4 separate regions of the Homo sapiens genome follow, and regions 1, 2 and 4 are each linked to region 3. The links are contacts of gene promoters, found by promoter capture Hi-C in blood cells and fetal thymus (Javierre and others, 2016). All regions are on one chromosome and are shown on one strand. Each heading gives the region's core, a stretch centred on a gene start or on the middle of the fragment in contact. The rest is flanking DNA. Distances are from core to core; before and after follow the strand shown.

Region 1 (5,628 bases), core at 1,690-4,189, 2.1 Mb after region 3:
AGCACGCCCTAGGAGACAACGGGGAATTGACCCTCAAGAGTCTGAGCACCATGAGCCAGGAGGTCACTGGCAGGCCATGTGGGTGCATATGGGGCCACCTCGCTCAGATATCAGCACGCTGGTTTCCTTATTGGGAGGCTACCTCTCTCCCACAGCTACTGGTCTTGGTGGGGTTATAAACCAAAGCATTTGGCCCTCCCCTGGCCAACGAAAGACTGCAGTCCCTTGGAACAGACACAGGCTTCTGACTCAGCCAGAGCCCAGGACGCACAAGAGGACATGACCACAGGAGACACATGCGCCTGCCAGGATGAGGCCCAGGGCTCCCAGCAGCCAACAGGTGAGAGAGAACAAGTCCAGGGGACATCACCTGAGACCTCGCTCAAGCCACACCTGAAGCTTATGCTGGCTGTGGATTTGCTGTGAGTCAACAAATCGCCTCTCACGTAAATCATTTTGGATGGGTTTGTTAATCATTTCCAACCAAATGAGCCCTTCCTGATATAACCAGAAACTAAATCCTCAACTTCCCAGATTTTGGGGTGACATTGGCAAAGCAAAAAGCAGATCTTTGAGAATTGAGAAATCATGGCTACAAATACAGAACAAAGCAGCCAGAGTGTAGACAGGCAGGACCCTGCCCAGAGCGGCAGCCAGAGTGTAGACAGGCAGGACCCTGCCCCGGAGCTTTACCACTTACAGCAAGTATTGCTTTAGCCTTTTCTCTTCTGTGACAGGTTCTTACCTGAGACAAGAGTCCTCCACCTTTCTTTCACCTATTCACTTAGTAAACGTTACTTACACATCTATTCTGCGCATTGACTCTCTGCCAGGCACATTTCCAGGCACTAGGGAAACAACAAGGAACAGACAAAATCTCTGCCCTTACAGGGCTTACATGGTGAAGAACGGGGAGAGAGGTGGGTGGGGCGGGGCAGGGCAGGGCAGGGCAGGCTCTCTGAGATGATCCTTGAGCTGAGAACAAGGGGGGCATGAGAAGAACCACAGGGAGTTTGGGGAGAGGGAGCCAGGCAGGAGGAGCAGCAAACTCAAAGGTCCTGAGAGGAAGAGAGCACACGTGCTCCAGGAGCCAGCGAGAAGTGCAGGAACTATATTTAGCTATAGTACCTGTGTTTTGTTTTTGTTTTTAAGAAAAGGGTCTCGTCTGTCACCCAGGCTGGAGGTCTGGCCACTGCAGCCTCCACCTCCCAGGCTCAAGCAATCCTCCTGCCTCATCCTGTCAAGTAGCTGGGACCACAGGTGCACTCCACCACACCCGGCTAATTTTTGTACTTTTTGTAGAGAGTGGGTTTTGCCAGGCTGGTCTTGATCTCCTGTCCTCAAGTGACCCGCCCGTCTCGGCCTCCCAAAGTGCTGGGGTTACAGGGGTAAGCCACCATGCCCGGCCTGTATTTTCTAATTTTCTGTATTACTGATGCTCTGGCATCTGGGGCCTCAGTGACGAGATAAGACTGTCCCCCAGAGCCGGTTAATTCCTAGGGTGGCAAATGGCAGGCCTATCAGAATGTGTCTGACATGAAAACCAACCCGTCCAGAGACCACATGCCCCACTACCTCTGTCTGGCTCACACACCCCAGGAGTCCCACCCTCTGCCATGGTCTCTCAGGGTCAGTGACCAGACACCTCGGGCCATCCCTGCACCTCAGAGACCACGACATGACTCTCCTTGGCCAACGCAAGCCCGTCCAGCTGCCCACCCTCCCTGGCCCAGTCCTCCCACAAAACCATAATCAAGTCTCTGCCCATGCCTCCCTTCCACCCTCCTGCCTCCTGACCAACCCTGCGCTTCCCCAGGTGGCCTGTGGGACATGGCCTACCCCTCGTCTTGGGAGCCCTGAGTAACAGACAGGGTCTCAGCTGAGTTGTCTCCTGATCCGCTGGCCTCACCACCCCTAAATGGAAACCAGTCCCAGGTACATTCTAAGCAGAAAGCCCACCGGACTGCAGCAGGCTGGGCCAGGGAGGAGAGAAGGAATGAGCGCCAGGCGCAAGAGCGTTCAGGCAGGCCTCACGGCGCGAGGAGAAGCTGGGTTCTCACTCCAATCATGCAGGGAGGCCAGGGAGAGATTCTAAGCAGAAATGACACAATCTGGTTCGGGATTTAAGAAAATTCCCGCAGCTGCCATGTGGGGGCGGGAGTGGAAGCAGGGGCCAATTAGGAGGAGGCGAGACAGGGAGGGGCAGGGAGGGTGACAGGAAGCAGGCACCGCTGGGCTCTGCTGCTTTGCAGGAGTGGCTGCGTGGTCATGAAGGGAGAAAAGTGGGAAGGGCCAGCTGCCTAGGTCGGCCCAGCCCTCCCAGGCCCAGTACTGAATCTCGCATCTCAAGTGAAGCAACGTGGAGGGAGGTGGTGTTATCCATGAGGACAGGGAAGGTGGGCAGAGCAGGTCTGAAGACTCCAAGCCCAGCTCCCATCACCACGCACCGGGGCCTGGCCCCCAGCTCCCATTACCACGCTACCTCCCTGTCCTCCTCCCTCTTCCCCTCAGTCTCTCTTCCTCCTCAGCTCCTCCCGCATCCAGACCTGCCCTCTGAGCCTGCCTCATCTCTCCCCAGAGCAACCCCCTGGCTTTTCCATGTTGACTGTCTGCTGCCCCCATCTACAACGTGAGCTCTCTGAGGACACAAGCCTGAAATAGTCTGTTCCCTGCTCTGTCCCTGGGGCCTAGGCAAAGCTTCTGCACGTGCCCCTCCTCACCCGGGACTGCCTGGGTTCCCCCAGCACCGCCACCTCCTCCTCCTCCTCTCCTGCACTCTCAGGAGGCCATTCTCAGGCAGGATCCCGTGGCTCCCAGAACCGTCGCTGGCTTGGGCTTCTTTCCAGAATGCCAGATCCTAACCACCCTCCCACCACCTCTATGCTACTTCACATCCAGTCTATTCAAATAAGAATCCACTGAGAGCTTCCTGAAGACACAGTATAGGGCAGAGTCAACTCTGTGTCATCTGCACGGTTCCTAACATATCGTGGTGCCCAATACATATCAAGCTGAACTGAAATACTCATCCCAAAATAAAGAAATATAAGCAATGATCATGGTAAAATTAAACAAAAAAAGTAAATGGGACAGTAAAAGAAATATACTAAAATCATTAATAAAGTGCCCTGAATTCAAAACAAGCATGTAATATTCTTCAGCCAACACCTTTCACAGGGAAGCAAGCTTTGGCCATTATCTAAAGCTATCAATTCTCAAAACAACTAAAATTATACAAACTTATAAGACTATCTATACCAAACCATCATCTATTTCCAAACTCTATTTATAGAATTTATATGAATTCTATTTATCTTCTTTTAAATACTGTATTTTGATTGATCTTTGTAAATAAAACAACGTTGCATTCCTGCAGTAAGCCCCACTTGATCCTAATACCCCATCTTTTATACATATTGCTGGCTTTGCTGTCTTAATATTTTCAGGGCTGCTGTGTTAATATTCATGAGGGATACAAGTCTGTACTTTTTTTTGTAGTGCCCTTGACTGGGTATCAGAATTATGGTGGCCTCAAAAAATGAGCTGGGAAGTGTTCCCTCCTCCTCTATTTTCTGAGTTTGTCTAGAATTCGTCTTATTTCTTCCTTTAGTATCTGATAAAATTCAACATTGTATTTTTAACCTCTGTAGCGTACGTTATCATGATGCTTCTTTCATTTTAATACTGGTAGTCTGTGTTTTCTTTTTTTTTTGTCTTGATCAATTTTATCAATCTTTTCAGAGAATCAACTTCTGGCTTTGCTGATTTTCTCTATTATTTGTCCTTTATTGATTTCTGCTCATATACAGTCATGTGTAACATAATGACATTTCGATCAGCAACAGACTGTATATATGACTGGCCCCTTAAGATTGTAATATTATATTTTTACTGTTTTTTCTATGTTTGATATACCGTTGTGTTACAATTGCCAATGGTATTCAGTACAGTAATGTGCCATACAGGTTTGTAGCCTAGAAGCAACAGGCTATACCATGGAGCCTAGGTGTGAGGCAGGCTCTACCCTCTAGGTTTACGTAAGTACATCCTATGATGTTTGCACAATGACAAAATCACCTAACACCATTTCTCAGAATGTGTCGGCACTGTCAAGGAACCATGCATAACTGTATTTACCATTTCCTTCCTTCTAGTTACTTTGTATCTAATTTGTTCCTTTATTTAGGTTTGTATCTAATTTGTTCCTTTATTTAGGTTGTTAAGGAGGAAACAGACGTCACTGATTTTATACCTTCTTCTTTTCTAATATAGTCATGTAAAGCTATACATTTCCCTCAAAGAACTGTATTAGTTATATCCTATAAATCTGTATATTTTCTTCCATTACTCAGTTCAAATTATTTTCTAATTTCCCTATTAATTCTTCTTTGATCCAGTATGTTAATTTCCTATTTGAGGATTTTCTAGATCTCATATTATTTATTTCTAACTTAAAAGCACAGTAGTCGATAAACATACTCTATAATTTGGGTCCTTTGAAGCTTATTGGGACATTTTAATGGCCCAGCATACGGTCTATCTTGGTGACTGTTCCATATGAACTTGGGAAGAACGTGTTCTCTAGCTTTGTTGGGAGTGGTGTTTAAGAGATGACAGGGTGATTGATGGTACACTTGGGAAGAATGTGTACTCTAGCTTTCTTGGGAGTAGCGTTAAGAGATGACAAGGTGATTGACGGTATTCTTCAGAGCTTCCAAATCCCTATGAGTGTTCTGATCTATCTGTTTTTTCAATAATTGAGAGAAGAAGAGTTAAAAGTCTCCAACCATGATTATGAATCTGAATATAGTTCCCTTTAGTTCTGTCCAATTTTGCTCTTTTGTACAAAAGAGTTATCAGAACAGACCTTACTGTTATGCTTTGAAAGACCAGCTTAGAAGTCTGCCCTTTTGCTGGAGTCTGGGAACTTAGATTTCAAGAGAGTTCCTACCACCTAACTGGTAAGAGGAGCTCACTGTGCCTAAACTGTTTATGTACTGTGGCTTATGCTAAACACGTGTTTCCCTTCTGAGAGTCTGGAATTTTGGACATGCTACACAACATTTCACGTGTGTTGTTACAATTCATTGCTGGAGGAATCAAACGCATCCTGTGTGACTCAACTGAGAGAGGACTCTTGGAAGCTTGTACCCTCTTCCCTCAGACATCCCCCATATGCCTCCTCCCTTTGCTGATCTTGCTCTGTATCCTTCTGCTGGATCAACCTTAGCTGAGAGTATGACTACATGCTGAGTCATGTGAGTCCTCTTAGAGACTCTTCAAACCTGGGAGGTGGTCTTGGAGGCCCCTAACACAAGTGCATACACATTTAGAGATTGTTACGTTTCCTTGATGATCACTGTCTTTATGAGGTGCCCCTTTATTTCTGGGAATACTCTTCACCTTGAAATCTACTTTTTCTGATACTAGTATAGATGCAAAGCTTTCTTTGCTTAGTATGTACATGGTTTATATTTTTCCACCCTTCTACCTGCAACCTGTTTACGTCTTTATGCTTAGAGTGCACTTTTTTGTAAACAACATGTAATTGGGTTTTAAATAACTTTTAACATACGACTTTGGATCAGGAATTCCACTTCTAGGAATTATTCTACAGACATATCTGTA
Region 2 (6,207 bases), core at 501-3,000, 2.0 Mb after region 3:
ACTTATTTAATAACACTGACAATTTACACACACAACTCAGTACAGAATGTCTTGCCTTTGCCATGCACATGAGTACTCACCAGCATCAAAGGTGCCATCTCTGCTCACAGGCACGAGGATGTGGGTCAGGGCGCCAGAGCTGGGCTGGCCGGCCTCATCCAGCTGGACCAGCTGCAGTCGTGGCGTCGTTGCGGGTGGGAAGCGGTAGAACTGGAAGGTGAAATACACAGTCTTTGGCCATGATGTTCCTCGGCAGTCCTGGGCCACTCTGAATCCAACAACAGCTCTGGGTTAACTGAGTATCCATGGCACAGAACCTGAGGGGTCTAATGTGTGTTTGCATAGGGGATGGTCCAGGCACCTTAGTCGCTGGGGAACAGTAAAGAGGCTGCCGTGGTCACCAATGCAACCGCTTTGCTGTGCTCTCAGCAAGCCGGCCAGACAGCAGCATTCTCGAGTGTAAGGACACTCCCGGCTAGAGAAGCTGCCTTTGGAGCTACACTAAGATCTAAGACCTGGACAACCCACCGTCCACATTTTAATGAAGGACCACAAAAGATGGGGTAAAGCAGCTTTCACAGCATTTAGCATGCTGTGGGTGGGTCCTAGCCAAGAGAAGATAAAAACAGATGGCACTCCCGAATCTACTAAGACCTCAGCACAGACAGTTCTGCCAGGTCAGAACCTCAGCGAAGTTTCTCTTCAACACAGGAAATGTGAAAGCCAGATGAGTAACAGAATATTCAAGGATTTACCTGCTAAAGGCAAGAAACTGTAGCACCATCTCGTTGCTTTGTAGACAATCTGATTCTTCCTTCTGAGGGTTAAACGTCACAGGTTCTGTAGCGCTGACAGCCTCGGCTGGCTGTTTATTGGCATCCAGAATCTCGGGAAAGCCGGAGGACTGCAGGAGCACCATGGAGGCTCTCGAGGGCTGCCCTGCAGAGCTGAGACACAGAGACTCCTCAGGTAGCCTCCCGGGAAAGGGGGGACCCATTGATGCACCTCCCTGTGGAAACCCTGGGGTTCACAAGGTCCAACAGTCTGACGGCACAGCACGTGACTGGTTCCATCCCACCCAGACCCACACCTCACCTCCTGGTCTGGGTTCCCACAACAATAGGGGCATGCAAAGGCGTGAACGGCAGCTCCTGTAACTGTTCGGCAATGGATGTTTCCAGGACCAGGGAGGTCTGGCTCAGGTCGGCTTCCAGGTGGGAGATACCGGCCTCCAACGGGAACTCCTGCTGAACAAAACGAGGGCTTCCAAGTGAGGCCACCAAGGACCCCAACCCGTAACAACCAACGGTGCTCAGATCTAAGGGGATTCATCGATTAATTGCCTCTGGAGGGTTGCCAGCTCTAGCAAATACAAAAGGTTCAATTACACTTGAATTTCAGGTAAACAACAAATGATTTTAGTATAAGTATGGTCCCTACGATATTTGGGATATACTTACACTAAAAAATTATTTGTTGTGTACCTGAGGTTCAAATTTAACTGGGCATCCTATATTTCACGTGGCAATCCAATGTGTGAGTTGAGAAGCGGTGAGGAGGGAATCCTAATTTTATGAGCAGGTCAGGACCGTGGGAGATACCTGACACCTGAGATGGTAAATTCATATCAAAGCATGTTTATAGAACAGAAAGATGAAGCTTCCTCAATACTCCAAGATAAACTGTGGCACCGAGCCCCTGGCTGGCGTGTTTGGACAGTCTCTTGTCCCCACAGCCCCTGAAACTTCTTGTCATTCACTCGTATTCCACCTCCACTCCCCTCCAAGGCCGAGGCAGGCCTCTCAGAGAGGAGCTGGCTTGGGAGTTGGGAATGTGCTCTCTCAAGCTTCATTCCCAAGCTTTCTGTTTCAGCCCAGAGGAAACCAGGTCACCCTCACACCATGTCTCATGCGCCAATAATAAAAAGCTAGGCAAGCTCTTCACAAACACATGAGCCCCAGAGATGCTTTAGATAAAGCAGCAGAGACTCATGGTGCTAGGAGTGTTTTCAAACAAGGAATTAAAAGAAACTATTTTTCCTCAACATAATTCCAGTTAAGACCAAAGATGCAGTTTGCAGGTGAACCAGCCGACTTTGGAAACCAAACTCCATAGGAATTCCCCAAGGCCAGTGGCAATGCCAGTCTTAGCCAGGAGCACACCCTGAAGCCAGGATGGCGGGCTCCACTCACCTCCTTTAGCTGCTGATAGCAAGGAGGGTCCTGGGGTGCTGGGTGCCTGTCTCAGCCTGTCTATAGATATAGCCACACCTTCCTTTTACTTTCACGTAGAGACCTAGGGGTAGCTTAACTTTGTTTTCATGGGTAGAGCACAATCTGAGTCAAGCGCTGTGGTATGAAGAACTCATGGGCCACATTCTTCTTTGGTCTCCAAGACAGAATGGTGACAACTGTCTGAGGCCTCAGAGTAAGCAATGCCCCACTCCCACCCACATCCCAGGTAACCCGCCAAGGTCTCTGCCACCTAACTAAGGACAGGCACAGTGCAAAAACCCAAAATGAGGAGCTGTGGAGCCATTCCTTGGTGGAAGGCAAGGCGGCAGGTGGGCGGCACTTACTGCCTGGGCCGGGGAGGCCTGAGAGCCATGGGGTAGCTGTGAAGTAGGCCTGGCCAAGCAGTGCTGAGTCGGGGACCGCGGGGAGGCCGCCAGCTGGGAAATTGACAACTGGAAGGAAAGAGAGCACAGGTGAGGGGCTCAGAAGCTTGCCAGTCCGTCCACAAAGCTCCCAACATGCACTGGCCACACCGGGGAACGGGGTAGCCCTGGATCCAGCCACGGAAGGGAGTGATGCCTGCAGCCTCCTGGCCAGGGCAGCTCTGGAACCTGGGACCGCTTCTCAAGTTCCTTTATTTAATGACAGAGAGGTGATTCCATGATCTCCCCCAGATCATAATATCTGAATAAGAATATTATTAACAAGGAAAACAAGCAAGAAAGGAGAAAGCATCTCAAGCTACAGGGGCGGCCTGGCCTCTGCCTCTCTGTCCCTTGCCAGCACTGGACTGAGCACCTCCAAGGCCCTGCCAGTTCTAGCCGCCTGCGTTCCTATCGAACAAACCTCCCTGTTAAGGCAATGACCATCTTGATGGCCAGCGCGGGCTCTGGAGACAGCTGTGGATAGAGTGCCCGTGCCAACGTGGCATTACCGTGGAGTGCCCGCACCAATGTGGCATTACTGTGTAGCCTCAGGCAAGTCAGCTAACCTCTTTTTGCCTCAGTCTCCTCACCTGTAAAATGGGGGTAATAATAGTACCTAAACTGCAGGACTGTTAGGAGAATTAAATGACAATCCTGGCTAGGGTTTGGCATAGTACCTGGCACACGGTGAGCCTTCTATAAATACTGCAGATATTTGGAAATGAGTGCGGCTTAAAACACTGATGCGGAGGGCTGGGGGCCCACGCACTACTGAAGACACAGATCTCAAACCCGGACTCTAACTCCAGTACACACAGCCAGCACCTGAGACATTCACTGTCAGCAATGATGGCTGGCCCACACCAGGTGCTGGCAGAGAGGCCCCAATGTATGAAGAGGCACTGAGGAATGAATGGGGGGCGGGGTGCATGAAGCATCCCCAGGGGACCCTGGCAGCATCTTCAGGGAGCAGAGGAGATCTTTGGGGCCTACCCAGCTTCCCTCAGACCCTATACGGTATCGTGACCACTCGGGGTCACGTGGAAACTGCTCCAGGGAAAATGCCAGGTTGGGCCAGCAGGGAAGCCTGGGAGGCCGTCCACAGACTTGCGCCTTTAGGTGAATCCAGTATTCTTCACTCCTGATCCAGTTTCCCACTGCAGATGACACACTAAAGCTGCTTCCTTGGAGACAGCCATGGATACTGAATTAGTCAACTTTTCTAGAAAGTCAATTTCCAGGATGATGCTGGCAGACAAAGTCATCAGCAGGAACAAGCCACATCTGACCTCACTGCAAATCACATAGCTAAGGCCAGCCTTGGAGCCACAGGTGAGCGCCACGGGTGTCTCGGGACTCCAGAACGGCAGCCAAGCAGGAGCTCAGCTCAGACCGCTGGCGGGCAACGGCCCAGCGGGAAGGCGCCTCTCCTCCCACTCAGGAAGTTCCAGCGCCACGGGGATCTGTGCGGTCGGACGTGCAACTGCCAGCAGCTTGTGGTTCTCAGCAGTGCCACTGTCTCCACCAGCATCGGCTGCTTGGCCGACAGGGCCAGGGGACACCAATAGCTGCCAGGCACCGCTACTGGTGGAGTTAGTCTGGGAGAGCAAAGAGGGTGAGGACCACACCTCGATGTCTCTCAGAAAAAGCAAAGGCCGTCCAGTCCTGAGAGTTGCCACCATGAGATGCAGCTGCCAGGGAGATGTGGAGACGCCCCATACAGCAGCATAGGGGTTGCAAGCAGCAGCCCCACTAAAAGCCCGCACTGGGAGTCAGAACATCAGGGACAGGCTGCACAGACAGGGTAGGAGGGGACAGCCCCGCCGCCGCCAGCAGGCCCTCCCCAGCCACGCAGAAGCACGCAGGGATCCACTGTGCTTAAGGGGGGACAGAGGGTTTTCTTGCAAGTAATTGACTCTGGAATTCTGAAGGAGGCCGTGGGGGGCCTGGACTTACCCCTGGTCCCACAGGTGAGTTCTGCGGGGCAGCGAGAACTCGAGGTACTGGCGCTGGCGGGCCTGGGAGGAAGCACAGTGGGGTAGGAGAGGGAATGTGTCAGCCTGTGTTGGGGGCAGTGGGCCCCTGAACCCCCACGCAGTCAGGTCTCCACAGGCCTCACCACCTTGTCTGTAACAGGGGCAGCCGCTGGTTACCGTTCAGGGGCAACAGCAGCAAGGGTGCCACCCAAAAGTGTCGCTGTCTATCTAGAGCCCTGGCATGCACCAGCAGCCAGGAGAGGGGGTACAGCTGGCCTCGTCCTCACTGTTCTTCCTGGGCCAGCAGGTCTCACAGCTTGGGGTGCTTGGAGCTCCCTAACACGCTTCTCCTCACTAGTCATCTTTGCATCTTCCCTGCCCGGAAGAGCTGGGGTCTGAGGTTGCCCCAGTCTTGCAGCTCCCTGACTCCGGCTGTTTTGTTAACCGAGAAGCTCCTGAGCAGACACTGCCAACCTGGCTTGCGGCCTCACGAACACCCACTAAGCACAAGCTGTCCGCCAGGTCCTGCTGAGGATTCTCCATGCAGGCCCGGTAACACTGGGAGGCGCACCTGGGGGAGGCAAGGCCAGCCCTTCATGGGGTCCCCCTGGAGCCAGGGACTGAGAACTGCCTTGGCCCTTTATAAGGCCACAGCTGCCTCCCAAGCATCCAGGGGCTGCCTAAAGAGCCAGCAGCCTCCTCCCAGGGCCACCTGTACCTGCCCAGCCCCGCCTCAGCCCAGCTGGCATTTGTGCTGCTTCTGCAACCCCTCCCCAGGCCACATGGACACCTCATGGCCCAGCAGACCCAGGGCTCTCAGCCCCTGCACCTCAGCAGGAGGAAGCCCCAGCATCGCTGGAGTCTCTGAAACCCACCAGGCTCCTGCCACAGCGGTGCTGGAGCGTCCATAGCCACTCGTCTCTTACGGTCATTTCACATACACTGCCATTTGCCTTTGCCCACCATGAAACCACCAAGCCAGACCCCAAGCCCATCCTGACGGGGCCACCTCTGCCCACTCAGAGGCCAGGGTGGGAGCCCTGCACACTGAGTCATCTGCCTGGCTTCCCTGAGGCCCACAGCCCAGTCTCCAGCCCATGTCCTGTCCCCACCTGGCTCATGACAGCCTCCTTCACGGTGACAGGACTCTCCACTGCAGCAGACACTACCACTCCCCATCGGACTTCCAGGATAACCCAGACCTCCGGAGAAATCAGGCTTCCCCCATGGCCCTGTCCCACCTCCCGTCACCCCCATGTGGCCCACATCTTGGGCCCAGCAGCTCGCCTTCCCTCCCTCTCCTGTGGCCTCTGCTGCCATGAAGGTTGGGCAAACGAATCTCCTATATGTCCTGGTATCCTGAATTCCTATGGCACAGAGCACAGGCCGGCACTTACGGGACCTACGGACCAAGCACACAGCACAGAGGCCTGTGACGTCAAACGCTGGGCACTCTGGATAGAGACTGCTCAGCCACTTCGTGTTCCGCTCTGAATCCCAAAAAAACAAAAACAACAAGGAAAATGCTGTCGACCAAGGAGAAACCAAATCCAGAAAGTGCCGCCCTAACAC
Region 3 (6,248 bases), core at 1,170-3,669:
TAGGGTTTCACTGTGTTAGCCAGGATGGTATCAATCTCCTGACCTTGTGATCCGCCTGCCTCAGCCTCCCAAAGTGCTGGGATTACAGGCGTGAGCCACCGTGCCTGGCCCCATATCCAGGAATCTTAATGAACAGAACTCCAAATAGGATACATGCAAAGAGATCCACAGACACATCACTGTAAAAATACAAAGATCAAAGGCAAAATCTTGAAAGAGAACAAAACCTTGAAAGCCCCAAGAAGAAAGCCACTTAGAAGGGAACCTCAATAAATGAACTGACTGAAACAATGGAGAATATTCAAACATATTCAACATGCTCAAATAAACTTGTCAACCAAGAATCCTATATCCAGCAAAGCTATACTTCAAAAATGGGCTGGGCATGGTGGCTCATGCCTGTAATCCCACCACTTTGGGAGGCTGAGGCAGTGATCACCTGAGGTCAGGAGTTTTAGACCAGCCTCGCCAACATGGTGAAAACCTGTCTCCAGTAAAAACACAAAAATTAGCCGGGCGTAGTGGCAGCCTCCTGTAATCCCAGCCATTCCAGAGGCTGAGGTGAGAATCACTTGAACCCGGGAGGCAGAGGTTGCAGTGGGCCGAGATCACACCTCTGCACTCCAGCCTGGGCAACAGAGTGAGACTCTGGTCTCAAAGCAAAAACAACAACAACAACAACAACAACAACAACAACAACAAAACTCACTTTACAAGAAACACTAAAAGAAGTTCATCAGGCTGAAAGCAAGTGACCCCAGACAGTAATTCAAAACCACACACACACAAAAACAGCACCAGTAAAGGTAATTATGTTCTTATATAGTTTAAATGCCTATTCCTCTACCTCCTTCTCTTAATTTAAAAAGCAATTGTATACAGTAATATGTGTATAATATATACAGACATGTACTATATTTGCCAATAACAAAACAAAGTGGGTGAAAGCAAACCCCTGCTGGCTAAGGAAATGACCACAGACAGAAAGTAATAATGATAACACAGTACTGTTGAGTTTGTAACATTATCAGATGTAATACATATAACAAAATACCACAAAAATAACCATATAAGAGTAACATTTCTGTATCACTTGGAATTAACCTAGTACAAATCTGAAGCTTAAGATGTATATGGAGAATATGAAGATTAAGCTGTATACGGTAAAACATAAAGCACTGGAAAAAACCCAAAAAAGTTGTGGAAAAAAAATCATTAAATTAAAATGCTACATTAGGAAATATTCACTTTAATCCACTTAAAGAAGGAACAGGGGAAGAAAAAGACAGACTTGTATAAAGAAAAGAAAAAGTAAAATGGCAAATGTAAACCTAACTACAGTGTATCAATAATATTAAATGTGCATGGGCTAAACAATTCAATCAAAAGGCAGAAACTACCAGACTGCATTTTAAAAAAGATCCAAGTATATGTGCCTACAGGAGACAAGTTTTGGTTCAAAGATAAAAATAGTAAAAGGAGTTGGAATTCACAAGTGGCCACTCCATTTGAACAAACCAGGAGAGCCTCCATGCAGCTCAGAGCCTCCCAAGTGGACCGGGACCCGCGCCGGGTCCACTGTGAAAAGGGTCCTTCGCCTTAACTGTTACACCCACGCAATGAGCACTTGCCCCTTGCCAGACACTGGCACCCCCCTTCAATCCTCACCACCCTCTTGGTGGATCCCTCATCACCCCACTTTTAGCACATTCAGTAGATGGGGCCAAGCTGAGGTCACTTGCTGTGTGACGTCCATTGGAGTGGCAGCAGTTGAGGGGCACAAACTCAGCTCTGCAGCATCTAGCACTACCAGGAGTTGAAACCAGTTCTGGAGAGGGTGCCCCACCTTCCTAGGAAAGTGGCCCGAAACCTCCCTTCAAGGGGGCGTGACCTGGGAGCCCCCTGTTGCCCAGGACGTGAACTGTGAGCTCCACTTCTCCCGAGGGCGTGGACCGGAGCCCCCCTTCTCCCGCGGGCATGGCCTGGGAGCTCCCCTTCTCTCGGGGGTGTGGCCCAGAGGCCCCATTCTGCGGGGGTGGGTAACCTGGGAGCCCCCTTCTCCCGGGGACGTGACCTGTGAGCTCCACTTCTTCCGAGGGCGTGGCCCGGAGCCCCCTTTTCACAGGGGCGTGACCTGGCAGCCCTCCTTCTCCCGGGAGCGTGGCCTGGAGCCCCCCAACTACTGCCGGGGGCGAGGCCCAAGCGGAGGCCGCTCCTAGGCCACAGGCACCCCGTGACCCCGCCCCGGTTCTCCAGACAGCAGGTGACCCAGAGTCCCCGCCCTGCCCGGCGCAGCTGCTGCCGGGACCCAGCCCTCACCTTCCGGCTCCTCATGAGTGTGAGCACCGCAGCCAAGCACCGCGCGCCCCGGCCAACGCGTCCCGGCGGAGCGGCGACCCGGAGTCTGCAGAGCGCGCCGCGGCGGCGTCCGACGTCAGCACAGCCAATCACAGTGCAGCACCCTCGTCATGTGATTCCCCCCCCCCCCCCCCCCGTGTTGGCTCTTTCGTAAGCGGCGGGCGAAGGTCACAGGCCTTGGGCCAGTGGTGGGACACTGGAGCAGGAAGTCGGCCTGTGGCCGGCCATGTTCATGAGGGCGCGTCCCTTGGCACCCCTGTAGCCGCTATGTTTCCCACGCCCGTGGCAGGCCTGAGAGATTATGTTTGCGGGGGGTGCTTTTTTTGTAGCTTCTGTGTTCGCCATATTTGAAAGGGGCAGACGGCCATGTTCGTGAACGGCGCTTCCCTTGGTGCACCTGTGGCCGCCATGTTTGAGCGAGGTGGGCAACTATGTTCTTGAGGGGGGAGCAACCATGTTCTTGAGGGGCTCTTCCCTTGAAGCCTCTTTGGCCACCATGTTTGAGAGGGGCAGACGGCCATGTTTGTAAGGGGCGCTTCTCTTGGTGCGCCTGTGGCCGCTATGTTTGAGAGGGGCAGGCAACCATGTTCGTGAGGGGCGCTTCCCTTGAAGCCTCTTTGGCGCCATGTATGAGAGGGGCGGACGGCCATGTTTGTGAGGGGCTCTTCCTTTGGTGCGCCTGTGGCCGCCATGTTTGAGAGGGGCGGGCGGGACGTCCGTGAGGGGCCCCTCCCCTTGCATCCCCTGGCTAACAGCCTGCAGGAGGGCGGGAAGTGCTTTCTCCAGTGCCGCAGAGCGCTGGTTTCTGAGTGCCGGTTAGCGGCCTTGAGCAGCGCGAGGGACTCCCAGGCCTGCCCGTGCTGCGGTCCCGCTGGGGAGCTTTGCGCGCTTGTCGCAGGCTGTGCTGCCCCGCGACATGCCGCTTTGGGTTGGGGTGGCCCGCCCGGGAAGTGGCCTCAGCTGTCCCCCACGTTGCGGGCGGGAGGGGGCCTTAGTGGAGGCCGTCGGTGGGCCCAGGAGGCCAGGGTCCGGCGTCGGGCTGGGGGCCGGTTTTCGTCCCCCGTTACGTGCAAGGCGGGAAATGACCCCTCCGCCGTCCCGTTACTCTCCGGGGCCAACGTGGACTCGCAGGGGCCACGCCTTTTCCAATGGCCACGCCCCTAGCAGGCCTGGGTGGACCCGCAGCGGCCACGCCTCCTCCAATGGCCGCGCCCTATCAGGTCTGGATGGACACACGGCGGCCACGCCTCCTCCAGCAAACACGCCCCTAGCAGGCCTGGGCTGCTGTGATGCGTCCTCTTTGGCCGCCGCTGAGGGAGGTGTTTGTAAAGCTGAGGACCACTGTTCTGTTGTGGGTTTTTTTGTTTGTTTGTTTGTTTTTTGAGACGGAGTCTCGCTCTGTCACCCAGGCTGGAGTGCAGTGGCGCGATCTCAGCTCACTGCAACCTCCGCCTCATGGGCTCAAGCCATTCTCCTGCCTCAGCCTCCTGAGTAGCTGGGATTACAGGCAGGCGCCACCACACCTGGCTAATTTTTGTATTTTTAGTAGAGATGGGGTTTCATCATGTTGGTCAGGCTGGTCTCGAACTCCTGACCTCAAATAATCCGCCCACCTTGGCCTCCCAAAGTGCTGGGATTACAGGCGTGAGCCACCGTGCCAGGCCCACTGTTCTTTTCTTTTCTTTTTTTTTTTTGACGGGAGTCTCGCTATGTCGCCCAGGCTGGAGTGGAGTGACGCAATCTCGGCTCACTGCAAGCTCTGCCTCCCGGGTTCACGCCATTCTCCTGCCTCAGCCTCCCGAGTAGCTGGGACTACAGGCTCCCGCCACCACACCCGGCTAATTTTTTTGTATTTTTAGTAGAGACGGGGTTTCACCGTGTTAGCTAGGATGATCTCGATCTCCTGACCTCGTGGTCCGCCTGCTGCGGCCTCCCAAAATGCTGGGATTACAGGCGTGAGCCACCGCGCTCGGCACACTGTTCTGTTCTTAAGAATTTCAACATAGAAATGAAATCCAGCCTTGCCTTAAACCCTCCAGCCCTCAAGTTCTCTGGGCTCTAGGATGTGTGTCTTCAGAAAAGGGCGCAGGGTGGAAGCCACATCAGAGGCCGAGGACACCTGGCCCCTCCCCTCTCCGCCCGCAGGTGGCTGCGCAGTCCAGGGCTGGCTCCCAGGTGCTCGGGCGCAGGGTGCACCCAGCAGCCCGTACTGTGCTTTGCAAATAAATGGGAGTCTTATTTCCTTTTTAAATCATTATTTTTTTTTTCAAGTGAGAACATTTAAATCAGGCAGTTTTGTCAGAAGCATTAGGTTTTCCACTTAAACTACAAAGGTTGAAAAGTGAACTGCATTGCATTGTGGCTTCATGGCCTGCTCAGGGTCCCTCTGTGCACTGTTCCAAGGCAGGGTGTGATTCATAATCTCTTCCAAAAGCATCAGTGTGCCTTCTCTTACGGTATGACTCTCTCAAAGCCCAGACATGCAGCTGATGCCTCCTTTTAGTGCCTGAGAAGGGAGAGTATTTAAGGATCCTGCCAGCTTGAGCTCTATGCAGCCTCCACTCTCTTTAGAAGTGTGACGTTTGGTAATTAGGTGGAGCCCTCAAATTAGACTGCACGTGGGGTTTTGCTTTCGGCAGTGAGTGAAGATGCTTGCAGCCCTGGTGTACACACACACACACATGTCCTACCTGGCTGTTGTACCCTCTCTCTTCCTAGCCCTGCGCTTCTCCCGTGTTATTATCCATGTTGTACAGAAGGGGAGGAGACAAATGTGTAACTGGCAGGAAATGCGTTTGAAATGGAAACTTAATATAATCGCTGCCAGCTGTTCAGAAAAAAATGAGAGCGAGCGATACTTTGTTAAACACCTAGCCTGTCCCATTTTCGCAGAGATTGATTTCATAATAAGCTTGGTTCAGTGGTTTTATTTCCCAGTCCTTGGGAGCTCAAAGTTTTCATCCACTGGGGCTTGGCTGGTGTTTGCCTGTCTTGTTTGTGGTTGGTGCCAGTTGATGTAAATGCCTCACTGCCTGGCCTCGCCCGCCCGATGGGGGCTCTGGGCTCCGAGCCATGTGGACTTTTAACATCCCAAAGGGCACTCTCCTTCCCTTCACCAATGTTGTCTGTCCTCTCCCCAGGTCTGGGATGAGCATGGTTTCCAGCCTCCCAGCTGTAAGGCCTGACACCCAGGCCATTGGTGAATGTCTCTCTCTCCCTGCCCACATCCTGTCAGATGCCGGTTGCTGTTAATTCTAGACTTTGAAGCCTCACGGCTGGTCTCTCCTTTTCCTCTGGCCTGGGCAGCCCACAGCTGTTGGGGTGATCCCCTGCTTCTGGGATCCAGAGCCACAGTCTTAGAGTGGCCTGTAAGTCCTGGCATGGTGCCTGGCACACTGTGGGTGCCCAGCAGGTGTTTGTCCAATGAATGTGCGGAAGGGCTTCTGAGCTTGCTCACCGTTGCCGCTCCCTGCTCCAGCCGCACAGAGTCCCAGCACCTGTTCCCCTGCCCCTCTGCTATCCACAGTGCCTCCCTCAGCTCCTGACCACTGCAAAGCCTCTTCCCCACTTCCCTGTGCCTGAAAACCTTCTTTCCCCAGCTCCCCAACCCACGTTTTGCCTGGCTAATCCATTTGTTAAACCTCAACTCAGCTTATATCTCCTGTCCTCAGGGGGCCCTTCCTGGATGCTCCCCCGCCCCCTACATTCAATCTGCCGGTTGCTGCTTTTTTAGTGTTCTGCACTCTTCTACCAGGACCCCGTGGCAGGCCAGGACCGTTTCTCCGGTGCTATCCCAGAGCATGGCGCATCCACTCATTCACTCAAGGTATCAAGCTCCACTGTGTTCTGGGGACTGGGCCAGGCGCAAGCCCAGGCATGGAATCATCACA
Region 4 (5,832 bases), core at 1,777-4,276, 2.1 Mb after region 3:
GTTCCTGGGCAGCCCAACGGAGCCCCCAGGAAAACCGGAGCAGAGGAACCTGGCTTTCCTTCTGCGTGGTTTCCTGGGACCTCTTGGCAGTCTCTCAGCTGGAGAGCCCTGCTGAGTGATTTCACAGTGGAGAAGGATGGAGGGAAGGAAGGGGAAGAGAGGGCAGGAGGGGAGAGCCCGTTGCCCTGGTCTGCAGGGAATAGCCTCCCTCTGAGGGAGGGACACTCCTTGCCCTATTCTCCCTGACCTTGGGCCTCGTGGAGGGCCTGCAAGCCTGCCAGACCCCCACTGCACACCTGCCCACCTGTCTGTCTGATTCCAGCAGCCCCTGGGCACCGAGTGGGTTGCAGAGCCATGCTCTGAGCATGCTCCCCCTCCTTCACCATGAATGTGTTTTCATTTTCCACCCCCGGGCAGCTTCATGATCTTTCATTGCAATCTCAGGCCCTGGTATCCACAGGCTCTCAATGCAGCCTAGGACAGAAGACTCTAGAATTCTGCCTCGGAGCCCTGTGATCCCAAACACTCAGCCGTGGCAGGGGCTCTCTGAAAGTGATATTCTTGCCACCCCTCCCAGATGCAGGAGGGTAAGGAATAACTAGAATGCATGGGCAAGGAGATTCAGCTCGATCTATTCATTATAAAACAAATTTAAATTTAAAACATTGCTTAAAACCTATACATGCCAGTGAAGGGCGAAGGTCTTAGCAGCAGACATTTGAAGGACCAAGAATGAGCAAGACCCACCTCCCTCCTCTAGGGCTGAGACCCAGGAAAGGGATGCAGTGACCACATGCCTGGAATGGTCAGAGAAAACCCTGCTGATAGGGAAGGAGAGACGGGGGCAGTGGGGACATTTGACCTGGACCTTGAAAGACAGGCAGGTTGTGATAGGCAGAGCTAGGAAAGGATGGTCTGGAAAAGGGCTCTGCATGGGCAAGGTCACAGAGGGAGGACCAGGCAGGCTGGATGATGGCCAGAGGCCCAGTGCGGTCACAGGCTAGGGCATGAATATGGGTGAATAGGATAACTAGGGGAGGGCATCAGGGCCAAGGCCACCATGGGCTGGACAGTGATGGGGAGGGAGGGAAGAGGAGAGCCCTGGAGCCCCCCAAGCTTTTCTGGCTGGGTCCACCTGGGCTGCACAGACTGAAAGAGGCAGAGCCAGAATCGGGGCCTCTGGATGGGGAGGACTGGGCTCGGTTGACCTTGGGTTTCGAGGTCTGTGTCTTGGACAGCAGTGCCCACTGACATTGAGAAGGTAGGGCTGGGGTTCACAGGAGAGGTGGGACCTGGAGGTGACTGCCACCTACCTACTGGTCACAGCCCTGACAGTGTCACCTGGGGGTAGTGCCAAGGGTCGCCAAGGGTACGGGTTTGAGAGGGAAGATGAAGGTCAAGACAGACAGTAGGGAACCCTGGATTCTTCCAGAGCCCGGGGAGGAGAGGAAAATAGAGGATGAGGCAGGTATCTGCTGCATCCGGTGGGCCAGCTGCTGCCAAGGAGGCAGCCTCTGTTGAGAGGGGAAGCAGAGCTGGGCTCCCAGGAGCAGCGAGGGGGCGCAGGACCCCAGATTCAGCACCACCAGCTTCCAAGCACTCGCCAACCAACTTATACCCATCTGACTGAGGCAGAAACACTGAAAGTCAAAGTGGCTTCCCTAAGGCCTCCAAGCTACTAGGCGCAGGAGCCAGGACCCCAAGCCAGAGTCCCACCCTGGTGACCTTTGGACTTTGCCGCCAATGGCTCTGGAGAGATTTGACCGTGAAAGGAGGAAAAGGAAGGTGAGGGCACAGGGTGGCTCCGGGGCTGGCGGGCGTAGACGAAGCCGCTTTGCTGCTTAACCGCAACTGCCAGCAGCACCCTCTTTCGTCCGCCCCTTTAGAGACGATTTCAACGGCGCATTCTTCCATTTCCTGCCTTAATGGGGGGCATTTCTGGGGACACCCGTGAACTGCGGGCTGGGGCTTAGCCTTGTTGGTTGCCCTGCATAGGTTGGCTGCGTAGTGCTTTACGTTCTGTGTAAGAATTGTGGAGTCTTGGGGCCTGGGTGGGCCGAGGGTCCTGAGATATCGGTGTGCCCAGCAGGCTTGTAGGGTGTGGCACCTGCCCAGCCCTCAGGGGTCCTGGTGCAGCTTAGCAAGCTCCTTGGCCACCAGTCCCTGGTGACTCAGATCAGGGGTTCCAAGAACATGCTTTGAGAAACACTCCCTAGCCCTAGCCGTTTCAGTCTGTCAGTGAACCTGCCCACCTCTACTTCTTAAGGAAGCACACGAGGAAGCTGTTTGTGATGGTTGAAAGCTCCGGCGAGAAGGGCTTTGCGGGGGTTTCTGTAATTCTTGGGAACATGTGAAGCCCACATTCTACTGGAATGACCTGCTGCACTTTTGTGAGCTTCAAATCTGAGATGTGCTTTCATCCTCCCGTGTGTGGCAGGGCGCCTTGTTAGTGTCCAGGCCTCTTGGAATGTGGTTTGGTTCAGGGGTACTGATGGCCCGAGTGCTTGCCCACGGCAGAGGAGGCCAGGGGTCAGTACAGGAGCCAGTCCTCGCCACCCTGTTCCTGACCATACAGAGTCTGTCACCTGCCTGTGCCCTGATTGTACCCCATCTGCACCGTGTCTGCACCCTGCCTGCGCCCTGTCTGTACCCCATGTGCGCCCCATCCGTACCCTGCCTGCGCCATCTGCGCCCTCTCCGCACCCTGTCTGTGTCGTCTGTGCCCTGTCTGTGCCCCGTCCGCATCCCGCCTGCGCCCTGTCTGTGCCCCGTCCGCACCCTGCCTGCACCCCATCCATATCCTGCTCTGCTGTCTGCACCCTCTCTGCACCCTGTCTGCGCCGTCCGTGCCCCGTCTGCACCTTGTCTGTGCCCCGTCCACACCCTGCCTGCACTCTGTCTGTGCCCCATCTGGGCCCTCTGCACGCCCTACCTGTGCCCTGTCTGTCTAGATAGATCCTGCAGCGCCTCCCGCCTCTGCTCAGCCAGCCCCCCGCACCCCCTAGAGGGTATTGCCTTTCCATGGAAATGAGTAGCAGGTATTTTTAGTCACCCAGACCAGGAGGTATTCAGGTGTCACAGACACAAGGCCCGGAGCCATGTTGTCCCTTTGCTCCTACAAAGGAAACAGGATGCCCAAAACAGGACTTGTAAATCCCAACTCAAAACCTCCCCGTTCCGCAGGGACACAGGGTGCTTTGCTCCTTGAAGGAGTAGTGGATGCCTCCTTATTTACATCCTTCGTGCTTACAAGGCAGTGGGGGTGTCCAGGGGACATCAGCCACCCTGTGCTGGGGCACTTCAGAGGCTCCGGGGAGCTGCCATGCTCTCTCTCCATCCCAAAAGATGGGTCTGGGGAGGCCACTGGGGCAGGCGAGCCCGCTCCTGTGAGGAGTGAACCCCACCCCCCGCCGCTCTGCTGGTGTGAGTGACAGTTATCAACAGACCCTGAATGGGGGCTTCCCAGAAAAGAAAAAAAAAAAAAAGAAAACAGTGATATCCCTGGGAGAAAGGGGCCTGTTTACATGAAGCCTATAGGCCGTTGGAATCTGAAGTAGCACCTGGGGGTCCTGGTGACGCCAGCACAGACAGCCCTCTCCAGGGCAGTGCTACAGTGAGACCAGGGTCTGGGGAATGTCACTTGCTCCTCATTAACTCATGAATCGGGAGCCAGGATAAGGTCGCTGCCCTCAGGGCCAACATCAGAGCGGGAGGAGGTGTATGGTCCAGGGCACCAAGGCGTCACTCAGGCCACCACCAAAGCATCACACCAAAGCATTGACAGCGTCCATCTCACATCGTCAGGAAAGGGGGAAGCACTGGATGGCTGTGGCCTCACAGGCAGGGAGAGTGGGGTCCAAAGGCGCAGAGACAGCATGGGGTGTCAGGGCACTGCAGGGAGAGGGACAAGGGCAGGTAAGGAGGGACCTTGGAGGCCGGAACATCTTTCACGGAGGCCTCCTGCTTCCTCTGTGCTGCTGAGCTGGGCCATTCATCTGGCCTGGGTGGAGGGAAGCTGAACAGGGTCCCTCTGCGACCTGGAGGCCCCAGGCCCTACCCTGAGCCCTTGGTGCTCTTGGAGCCCTGAGCTGCTCCAGCTGCATGTGATCACCACACACACACACACACACACACACACACACACACTCTCCCAACACACACACAGACACACAGAGCCTGTGCCACCAGCCCTCATTCTCTGCCTCACCCAGGGCCGGAAGGTTCTGGCTAAGCCTCCGGGGGTGCCACTGGGAGGGATGCCTAGGAGAGGGTCTCCCCAACCCTCTAGCAACCTGATAATCATGATCACCGGTTGTTGGAGTGGCCTGGCCACCTGCTGGGCTGTATGGGTGCTGAGGGCCTGGCTGAGCCCCGTGATACACCCATGGGGGTGGGTCTCTGAAGAGCAGTCTGTGTGAGCAGCAGGAGAGGTGGCACCTCAGGTCAGGGGACGCTTCCCCCCAGGCTCTGGAGGGGACAGGATAACACCTGTCCCCAGGCTTGGCGGAATTCCTGGTCTCTAACGCAGCCCGGAACACACAGAGAAATGATCCAGTGTGGGGCAGTGTTGCTCACATGGTGGTAGGACTGGGTCCTAGGCTCCTGGAGCCAGCGGCCTCAGAAAGCCCCTCTAGGTTCTCTGAGTCTTTGACACTGTGCAGCCCAGACTCCTCATTTTATAGACAGGGAAACTGAGGCCAGATGACTCATCCTTGACAGAGCCGGGATCATGGTGCAGCTCTCTGACTGAGCCCCCTCGATGTCCTGTAGTCTCTCCAAGCATGCCCTGCAGTGGTCATGACTGCTGACATCTGTCCCTGCCTAGACTGTGGGCCTCGTGAGGACAGAACATGCCTGCTGTCCCCATCACCTCTGTCCCCCAGCTCAGCCTGACTGGTAATGCCCCGGCCATGTCATGAGGCCTTGGAACCAAGCCTAAGCTTCCTACAGGCCAGCAAACATCGTCCCCAGCACTGGCTCCCTGATTTCATCTCCCCTGGCCGTGGCAGGCAGAGAGAAGCCTTCAGAACCAGGGAGGACCAGAGGGCTCCTGGCCCAACGGAGGCCAACTGTGACACCAAGGGATCCTCCCCAAGGGGTCTTCCCCGCCAGATACAATCCTGCTCTGAGCACCCTGAACAACAGGCAGTGCCCAAGGGAGGCCAGAGACAGCCGTGGCCTCTGGGGCCTGGCACTCAGCCAGAGCTGGCAGGAGGCGGGGATGCACCTCCTGCAGCTGAGGTTGAGACAAAGCCAGGTGCCTGCCACGGCAGCTGTGGCCTGAGCTGGCATCGGTGGCTGATGGCCACAGACTCCCTGATGCCTGTCATCTGTACTGAGGGCTCTGTCCCAGCCCCTGAACCGTACGTGATGCCCACACCACCGATGAGGACACAGCTTGTGTTTTTACAAACGAGGCACTTAATTATGTGGAGGTAAATCCTTTGAACTGCAGAAACCATCCCAGCACGTCCCCATCAGGTGTTCCCAGGTGGCAGGCAGAGAAGGCCAAGGTCCCTTGAGTGGATTTCCAGGGGAGCTGAAGGGCTACGGCCCTGCCAGGACTGGGAGGTACTGGGAGGGGCTGGACAGCTGAGAGCGGCTGCCCCCCTGCAGGAAGAGGAGGCAGGCGCTTCACCCGACTCTGGACGACGCTGACAGCAGTGTCAAGGACTCTGCCGTCACTGTTGTCCTTTGAGTTGGCAGCTGCCCTGTGTTGCAGATTTGCTCTGGCTCTGGCCCCCTGCTTCGTCCCCTCCACACATTTGTTCTTAGTCCTCAGCTCCTCCCGTCTCTGTGTCCCGGGTGAGAACAGGTCCTAGACCTTGTCTC

What was found. The method cuts DNA at HindIII sites, captures the fragments that hold promoters and counts their contacts. A CHiCAGO score of 5 or more calls a contact.
Region 1: a fragment that was not itself captured here is called in contact with the fragment with the promoter of C1orf174 in region 3 in 3 of 17 cell types (naive CD4 T cells, endothelial precursors and naive CD8 T cells); the score reaches 8.7 in naive CD4 T cells.
Region 2: a contact is called between a fragment that was not itself captured here and the fragment with the promoter of C1orf174 in region 3, in 1 of 17 cell types (total CD4 T cells). The highest score is 6.2, in total CD4 T cells.
Region 4: a fragment that was not itself captured here is called in contact with the fragment with the promoter of C1orf174 in region 3 in 2 of 17 cell types (naive CD8 T cells and activated CD4 T cells); the score reaches 5.3 in naive CD8 T cells.

Annotation. Positions count from the first base shown.
Region 1 is chr1:5,978,406-5,984,033 of GRCh38, forward strand. It overlaps NPHP4 (nephrocystin 4), which reads right to left. Exons shown (of 30, transcript NM_015102.5): 3 at 1-8. Among named protein-coding and RNA genes, the nearest start is that of NPHP4, 11 kb to the right of the region's middle. The HindIII fragment of the contact is 489 bases long and covers 2,696-3,184 here.
Region 2 is chr1:5,904,537-5,910,743 of GRCh38, forward strand. NPHP4 (nephrocystin 4) reads right to left here. Exons shown (of 30, transcript NM_015102.5): 12 at 4,616-4,677; 13 at 2,579-2,686; 14 at 1,096-1,247; 15 at 756-947; 16 at 81-268. Among named protein-coding and RNA genes, the nearest start is that of MIR4689, 45 kb to the left of the region's middle. RefSeq lists an enhancer at 4,177-4,702. The HindIII fragment of the contact is 187 bases long and covers 1,658-1,844 here.
Region 3 is chr1:3,897,853-3,904,100 of GRCh38, forward strand. It overlaps C1orf174 (chromosome 1 open reading frame 174), which reads right to left and starts at 2,420. Exons shown (of 4, transcript NM_207356.3): 1 at 2,320-2,420. The coding sequence starts at 2,334. LINC01134 (long intergenic non-protein coding RNA 1134) reads left to right here and starts at 2,552. Exons shown (of 4, transcript NR_024455.1): 1 at 2,552-2,779; 2 at 6,113-6,184. RefSeq lists enhancers at 1,512-2,082, 2,083-2,651, 2,652-3,221, 2,861-3,120 and silencers at 2,171-2,240, 3,321-3,500. The HindIII fragment of the contact is 4,148 bases long and covers 1,120-5,267 here.
Region 4 is chr1:5,997,186-6,003,017 of GRCh38, forward strand. It overlaps a transcript of KCNAB2 not described here. Among named protein-coding and RNA genes, the nearest start is that of NPHP4, 7.7 kb to the left of the region's middle. RefSeq lists enhancers at 2,086-2,800, 2,801-3,515, 5,659-5,832. The HindIII fragment of the contact is 3,824 bases long and covers 1,115-4,938 here.